3 separate regions of the Homo sapiens genome follow, and all the other regions are linked to region 3. Evidence: promoter capture Hi-C in 16 types of primary human blood cells and fetal thymus (Javierre and others, 2016). All regions are on one chromosome and are shown on one strand. The core of a region is centred on a gene start or on the middle of the fragment in contact, and the rest is flanking DNA. Distances in the headings are between cores, read along the strand shown. Region 1 overlaps DSC3 (desmocollin 3). Region 2 overlaps DSC3 (desmocollin 3). Region 3 holds the start of DSG1 (desmoglein 1).

What was found. Contacts are between HindIII fragments. The CHiCAGO score rates a contact against its expected background, and 5 or more counts as called.
Region 1: a fragment that was not itself captured here is called in contact with the fragment with the promoter of DSG1 in region 3 in 1 of 17 cell types (monocytes); the score reaches 5.1 in monocytes.
Region 2: a contact is called between a fragment that was not itself captured here and the fragment with the promoter of DSG1 in region 3, in 1 of 17 cell types (monocytes). The highest score is 5.4, in monocytes.

Annotation. Positions count from the first base shown.
Region 1 is chr18:31,007,690-31,010,389 of GRCh38, reverse strand. It overlaps DSC3 (desmocollin 3), which reads left to right. Exons shown (of 16, transcript NM_001941.5): 10 at 1,865-2,121; 11 at 2,232-2,374. Among named protein-coding and RNA genes, the nearest start is that of DSC3, 34 kb to the left of the region's middle. The HindIII fragment of the contact is 4,708 bases long and covers 1-2,700 here.
Region 2 is chr18:30,987,124-30,989,825 of GRCh38, reverse strand. It overlaps DSC3 (desmocollin 3), which reads left to right. Exons shown (of 16, transcript NM_001941.5): 16 at 1-461. Among named protein-coding and RNA genes, the nearest start is that of DSC3, 54 kb to the left of the region's middle. The HindIII fragment of the contact is 5,568 bases long and covers 1-2,702 here.
Region 3 is chr18:31,316,746-31,319,445 of GRCh38, reverse strand. DSG1 (desmoglein 1) reads right to left here and starts at 1,286. Exons shown (of 15, transcript NM_001942.4): 1 at 1,098-1,286. The coding sequence starts at 1,145. The HindIII fragment of the contact is 11,545 bases long and covers 1-2,700 here.

The DNA of each region.
Region 1 (2,700 bases), core at 110-2,609, 310 kb after region 3:
CTGTTCTCTAAATTTCCATCCATTTCTCATTGCCAGCAGTTGCTCTTACTCTCTGTGTGATCACACCAGCACATGAAATGTGTGAAACAGTATTCATCAGCATCAAACGAACAGATATTAATATTTTTTTCCTTGACTCTCCAGTTTGTGGGATATACATACAAAATAAAAAAAGGTTTTACATATGTTTTGTAGATTCTAAGATTCAGAAACTTTCTTGACTTTTTAGTGGACTCGTGATACTAATGTCTTACTCTGTTAATACCTAGGTGTGGAGAAAGATTTAAAATAATTTTATTCACCAGTTTTGATTTTGTTCAATGTTTAGCCAGTGATTGTTTTGATAAGCAGAAAGAGAAATTGAAGAAAAAGTGCTTCAACTTTATAGTACAGTGTAACATAATGTTTTATGGGTTTTACTTGATTTGTTATCTAAAACTGAATTTTAGTCAAAGATTGATTTGGAAATTTTTTAGAGATCAGTGAGCCAATTAAGCAGCACACGATAGCAGAGGGATTATAGCGTAGGCTAAGGAAATGGACTCAGGTCAGACTACCTGGCTTCAAATTCAAGCTCAAATGATTATCTTTTGGTCTTAAAAAAAAATCAGTTTATCTCCTTTTCCCGTTTTCTGCTCTGTAAAATGAGGATGAGGTCAATAATACTTACTTCATAATGTCATGAGGATTTAGTGAGTTTATTTTCACTGTTAGAGTAGTGCCTTAGATTCAATGATAATTAAAATCAATCACATAGTATTTCCCTTACTCCTCTGTGTATCCACTGTGAATGTTTCATTGGATAAATTATAGACAATGCCAAAGTATAATTCTCAAGTTTTCAAAAATGTAATTTTCATAAAAACAGGTAGTGGGCATGGATGGATAAAGGTTTTAACTCATTCATGAAGGAACCAGCAAAAAGACAAGTTGATTCCTAAGAAGAAATGAGACTCTGGATGGATTTTGATAAAAGAAAAGCAGCAATTAGATGGCTCAGTTAGATGCCTTAGAGGGCAATTAAAACACACATTTGGGGCCGGGCATGGTGGTTCACGCCTGTAATCCCAGCATTTAGGGATGCCAAGGGAGGTGGATCACCTGAGTTCAGGAGTTCGAGACCAGCCTAAGATGGCAGAACCCCATCTTTACTAAAGAAAAAAATACAAAAATTAGCTGATTATGGTGGCACGTGCCTGTAGTCCCAGCTACATGGGAGGCTGAGGCAGGAGAATCGCTTGAACCAAAGAGGCAGAGGTTGCAGTAAGCCAAGATTGCGCCACTGCTCTCCAGCCTGGGTGACAGAATGAGGCAAGACTCTGTCTCAAAAATAAAATAAAAGAAAATAAAATACTGGAGATATCTTTTCTATGAGACAGAAAATGAAATCATTGCACCTTTTGGTTTTGTGAAAGTCAACATCAAACTTTACAAGAGTTATAAAATGCCTGGGCCATAGTCAGTAGTAACTGATAAGCCAAATAAAGGCAACTTCCCATACTCAGATGACCGTTAGCCCAGCCTGTTAGACAGTGCTCCAAGCAGGACCATAAGAATACTGTCATCTGTTTGCATTACTTTTTGAATCAGAGTAATTTTCCTTAGTAAGAGTGAAATATGAAAATATTTCCGGAATTTCGTTTGTCCAACTCTATGAAACTACCTGCAGAAGTTGTTGGACCATTCTTGGTAGAGGCTTAGCACGGGATCCACTCTCTGTTTAGCAAGGGATAAAAGTCAGTATTAACAACATGTGAACATAGAATTTATGCAGCACTGGTCAGGATGACAAATGTTCACTTGCCATTTGAAATGCCAGATGTATTTTACACTGACACTGATATACATGGACTTTATTTTAAAGCCACTGAATTATGAAGAAAACCGTCAAGTGAACCTGGAAATTGGAGTAAACAATGAAGCGCCATTTGCTAGAGATATTCCCAGAGTGACAGCCTTGAACAGAGCCTTGGTTACAGTTCATGTGAGGGATCTGGATGAGGGGCCTGAATGCACTCCTGCAGCCCAATATGTGCGGATTAAAGAAAACTTAGCAGTGGGGTCAAAGATCAACGGCTATAAGGCATATGACCCCGAAAATAGAAATGGCAATGGTTTAAGGTAAAAATAAATCTATAACCACATACTAATAATGTATTTGTAATCATTGAGATAGTAACTTATTTGAAAACATTTTCTGATGCTAAAGACTATTTTTTTTTTATTAACAGGTACAAAAAATTGCATGATCCTAAAGGTTGGATCACCATTGATGAAATTTCAGGGTCAATCATAACTTCCAAAATCCTGGATAGGGAGGTTGAAACTCCCAAAAATGAGTTGTATAATATTACAGTCCTGGCAATAGACAAAGGTAAAAAAAAAGTTTTAATCTGGTATTCTATAAAGGAATTAGAGAATAAAATGTAATTATTCTTATGCAGATTTATTTTGGTGGTAAGTGTATGGAATTCTTTGAAATTACTTTAAAGACTCTTTCTGTCTCTCTTAATTATCTAACAAGGTGAAACTGTTTGGTGACAAGAAGCCGTGTTTTATTTATCTTTATATCCCCAATAGGGCAGGACCTTAAATTCTTATGTATTTCTATGCTAGAGGACAAAAATAAAACTGAAATCTAAAACTAGATAAAATGGTCTCATCAGACTCTTCCACATCCGTTTGTGTCACTTTAAATTG
Region 2 (2,702 bases), core at 39-2,538, 330 kb after region 3:
TAAGAAAAAGGTTAATACCAGCTTAGACAGTTTATTTTGGCTCTTATATTATTTAGAATTAGGCTTGGTTTCATGGGCAGAAAAATTAAATAGTATTCAGAACATGTTTACGGGCTTCTGTATTCGACAGTTTATTTTGATTGCAAAGGTTTGAATCTCAGAACCTTCTTTTCCCTTTACTTAAAAAATGGTAAAATTCATAAAACATGGCTATGAATGGTTAAAATTCATCATTTTCACCATTTTAAAGTGTATAATTCAGTGACTTTAGTACATTTAAAATGTTGTGAAACTGTTACCACTATCTAGTTCTGGAACATTTTCATCACCCCAAGAGGAAACCTTTTAAGCAGTCATTCTCCTCTTCCCCTCCCTGCATTATCCCCTGGCAACCACTGATATCTTTTCTGTCTCTATGGATTTGCCTACTCTGGACATTCATATAAATGAAATCGTACATATGTGGCCTTGTGTGTCTGGCTTCTTTCACTGAAATGAGGACTTTTCATGCATCCCTTTACTTGGGAATGAAATCCTAGAATATCTGAAAGGACTTGTTCAGGCTTTACTCAGAAACAAATATGATTATCAGTCTTCTATCAAATTCAAAATGAGTATTTTTAAAAGGAACATCAAATGAGATAAAGCAAAAATAGATCTGATAATAAGTATAACAGTATGTACAAATACTTGTTATCTGTGGAAGCATCATATCTTCTTGGCAAAAATTTACAGCTATAAAAATTGGCTAGCATAAATGGTCACAAAGAAAACTGACAATGCAAATACTATAAATGGTTTAATTTTATATAAGGGGCCAATTAATCAAATGATTCAATTTTTATTGTAAAATATAAGCAGAAAGTAATTCCTATTAAAATAATTTTAATGAAATAATTTTAAAAATTAGTTTAACTTTGCTTTGGAAAAATTAAAATTGTTTAATTTTATTTAAGCTGGAAAATACCTTCTGGATAAAAATTTATAAATCCAAGCATAATTCTACTATACTCAAAAGGGTAAAACCTTCTAAAAATTTGAAACGAGTTGAAAATCTGTTGTTGTTCAGATCTGAACTGTCTAAATGGATCCATGTTTCTGTCAAACTGCTCTATGCGTTAGTCAGCATGCTGTCTAAAATAGAATCCATTCTGGAGGGTAATGTCTGCTGAAAATAACATGCTACATTCCTGTGCCAGAACACGTTCTGCGTAACACCACTGAACATCTTTAGGGAGTCCTTGCCTAGACTTTTTATATTCATGATTGAGAGTGGCTTGCACTAAAATACTAGCCTCTGCTCTAAAATAAATTCACCAAAAAAGTAGCAGCATCAAATCTACTTAAAAATGATCACATTTGCCTCTATATAAGATGTTCTTTCTCCCAGACTGTGCTTTGTTGAGTTTCAAGAGACCCTCCCCAGGAGCTTCTGTCCCTGTCTGTTGGCTGCGCAACATTTTACCTTCCAGAGAACAGACAGACCACAGGATTTAGTATGGGCACCTGGGAAGATGGGGAAGAAATTAGTTTTTCTCCCCAAAAGCATGAGATTGTAATACACACAAACATTCTGTAACACTTTTTTTTCTTTTCTGGTGTTTGATTTGTTCTTATTGCCCAGCTCCCATCCCATTTAAGCAACTTTGCCTCTCAGTGCTTCTTAGCTACTATGTAAGTAAACCATAAAATTAACATGGAAACTCCTGGTCTGAAACTCCCAGGTGACCATGACTGGAGTAAGAGCTGCCTCAGTGACCACCTGTGCAAGTTTATGACCAAACACCAGATGGTCATACCCAGAACTCTTACTACCCCACAGGAGTAGGCAAAATTTACACTCAGCCTCAGAAACATTGGGGTGAAAAAATCCCAAAAGACTGAGATTTATCTCTACTACTTTGGTTCAGTTAGGACTCTAAATAGAAACTGACCAACAGAAAAATAAGAGAAGTTAATTTCTGGAACATAGGAGAAGTGAACTGAGATTCTTAGCCACTAGTCAAACAAAAAAAACAACTGGAAATTAATGAAAGAGAGGCAAGAAACATTTCCTTTTGAGATAAACTGGTTTGCACTTTTCGTTTTTTTTTTTTGGAGGGGGTGGGTTACGTAAGTTCCACGTGAGTCCTCCAGGTGTTCTGCCTTTGCCTCTGGGCACCAGTGTGCATGGCTCCTTTTCAAGTATCTACAAGAAAGTGGGGGACACACCCTTCAGTGACTCAGACCTCTCCCACGCCCATGAACAAACAGGAATAGACACTTGGGGCTGGACAGACTCATTGACAGTGCCAGGACTGTTACTAAAGACAACTTCAAAGAGAAAAGGATCTTCAGAAACCAATTTGAAGAAAGCTACAGCTGCTACTTAGCCGTTCAAGAATATTTCTCTGCCTCCCATGCACAATGCAACCATAGTGGGAGGAATATACGCACTATGAACACTATAAACCAGTGTTTTTTATTGGCTCAAACTAATAGATGCAATATGATTCCACAAGGGGTCTGAGTATTTTGCTACTGAATTCTCACATAATTTATATTGATTTTATTGTTTTATTTTCCGAATACCTTAAGGTAAATGTGCATTGTGCAATACAAATGTGTAATTTATTTTATTAAAAGATAGATTTTAGTTTTAACCTTAATAGATTAACTCCCTGTACATATGTAATCTGATTCTGCGTAAATTGCACTACCAG
Region 3 (2,700 bases), core at 37-2,536:
AAATCCACTGATTATGTCCCGCCTTAGTTAATAAAACTGAATTCAAACTAACCAGCATACTTTGAATCAAAGATCTAACTTATTATACCAACCAACCCAACATTCCAGTTCAAAAATTAAGCAAGTAGAAACAAATGTGAACCACAGCACTATACATCCTGCCAAGCTGGAGGGCAATTTACTTGGCACCTGCCTTTTTGAATTACATTAACCTTACTATGAGAGAGATTACAATTTTCAAATTTTCACTGAAAGTGAAATTGACATAATACATTAGTGGTGCACTTAGTATTATCTCTACAGCAAGAAAACTAATTACATGTAAGGGGGCAATGATAAAGTATTTCATTACATTCGTCAGACGATCAAGTGCACAACTTTTATATCGCAGTCATCACTGACATTCCAGTAGTAAGATCGAGTGTAATAATAATTATACTTACTCTTTAATTATAGCCACTTCTTCACTTAATATGTCATTTATAAACCTCCTGTACTGCCGTTTTTTGAAATTAAAAATGTTTTAAATAAAATCATAGTTAAATAGTGCGGGGCTTTTTATAGTAGTGATACAGATTCTAACCAAATATGCAACTGATGACTTTATTTGGATAGCGAGACCAGCCACAAACTGCTACGATTTTAAATTATGTGGTGCTATTTTTATGTTTTAAAAATTAGAGTAATTCCACCACCAAACACACAAAAAAAATAAAAAAAAAAACAGGTTAAAAATCCAGACACACTTGTGATATTTAGTTTAAAAGCCCTCTTGCAGAAGAGATTTTGAACGACAAAGTGCTACTAACTAGCGATAGGAATTTCCTAAATTCAGTCTTTTCCCAGCATGACTTAGCAATGACTTCAGTGTCAGAGATGTAATACAATGAGTTGACACTGAGGCATTAACATGATCTTGAGTCTTCAATTAAAGAGAGAAATGCTATTGAAAAATCTAGTTCATAAAATCATCTTGTCATTAATATACATTTTCAATGGGTTTAGGTTAGAAATAATGCCCACTAACATTTTCTAAAAAGTTTTCACTTGTTTACAATGGGCACGATTATGAAGGACTTTTACCAGAATCCACTCACCAGAAAAATGAACAGCATTGCAACTACTCTGAAGAAACTCCAGTCCATCTCTGCTGGATTCTCTTACATCCAAGACCAAGGGAGTTTTGTTTGTTCTTCTCTGTTCTTTTTCTTTCTCCCACTCAGCTGGTGTCTGATTAAAATAATTTCTCAGTAGATGTTCTTACATGCAGGCTTTGAGGTGTTTCTGCCTTCCTCTGGGAGAAGGACTGAAGGTACGTATAACCAGTCTGGATCCCCACCCTAAAAACTTGGGCTGGTCTCACTGAAATGCTTGACAAGATCATCATTGCTCCCAGGTAAAAACTTGGGGACACACCCTTCCTCCAGCTGAAAAGCGACTCTTGATGGGGCAAGGAAGATTCACTCCTTTACTGAATGTTTTCAGTGGCAGGCTCTTAAAGTGAACAGAAATACCGAGGGTTATACAGGTGATGGGGGCTTCTCACCCCATGCTTTCTTTACAGGTGGTTTAGTTTCTCCCCATATTAAACAGGCAGGTATAACTTGAATGCTCATCTTATTCATTCCATTATCTGTTTGTAGCCAAACCCTCAGGTCATAGTAGAAAATGACAAACTTTCCATTTTAGTAGATGTTGGGAAAGTTTCAGTTATTTTCGGTTGTTAAGAGACAGAAAATATGCTAATGCAAGACTGAGATTTTTTAAAGTTATTAATTCAAACAAGTAAAACCATGATACTTACAATTATTAGATCCTCTGCATAAGTCACAATTCCCATTAACTGACCAGCCTTCAGTCTAAGGAATCCTCCATTTTCCCTCTAAAGAAATTATTTTCTCTCCCTAATTATTTTTCTTTCTTTATGATTCTTTTATTAAATGCAACAAAATAAAAATTTAAATATTACTAAACTTAAGGGTGAATAGTGAGAACCACCAATTAAAATCCTGATAATAACTTTAAAAATGAGATTCGGTGCCTGAAATACTAATGAAAACACAGAAAGCTGCTCAGCAGGTGAGGTGGGTTAAAAGTCAATGACAATTCCTAAGCACAGAGCCAAGAATCTGTACAGCGAGCCAATTAGAACATAGGGAATACACTGAAGAAATGGCTGCCTACACAGGTAGACGGGAAACTGAATGCAGCCCTGAGGTTTGTGAAAATAAATAGCAACCTTCACAGGGCAGCATTTGGACATATTTTTGGACTCTCTTCTCTTCCCCTGGCAACGTCTAGTATAAATATTGTGAGTGGCAGGAAGCTCATAGACACTGGACACCCTCAGAGTTTGAAACGGCTACTTAGAACAAGAGACCTACCTGATAAGATGTTGATTATGGTCAAAAAGATACTCAAAATGTCTCCAAAAGGAAGAAAATCTCTGAGGGTCAGAGGGTCTATAGAAGGCTGTCATTTCACTACAGATTTGTGGCAAAGAAGATGTGTGGTTTGAATTTCCATATTATCCATCATACAGTGTGGAGGGGAGGAGATAGGCTGCCCATGTTTATTTGCAGTGAATAAGAATGTTTATGATTGTAAATAGCAGATGTAAATAAATAAAATTTAGAAAGATGAGCTGGCCGATTTTCTCTAATGAGAAATGTCAAATAAAATAGACTGTATTAACCTATG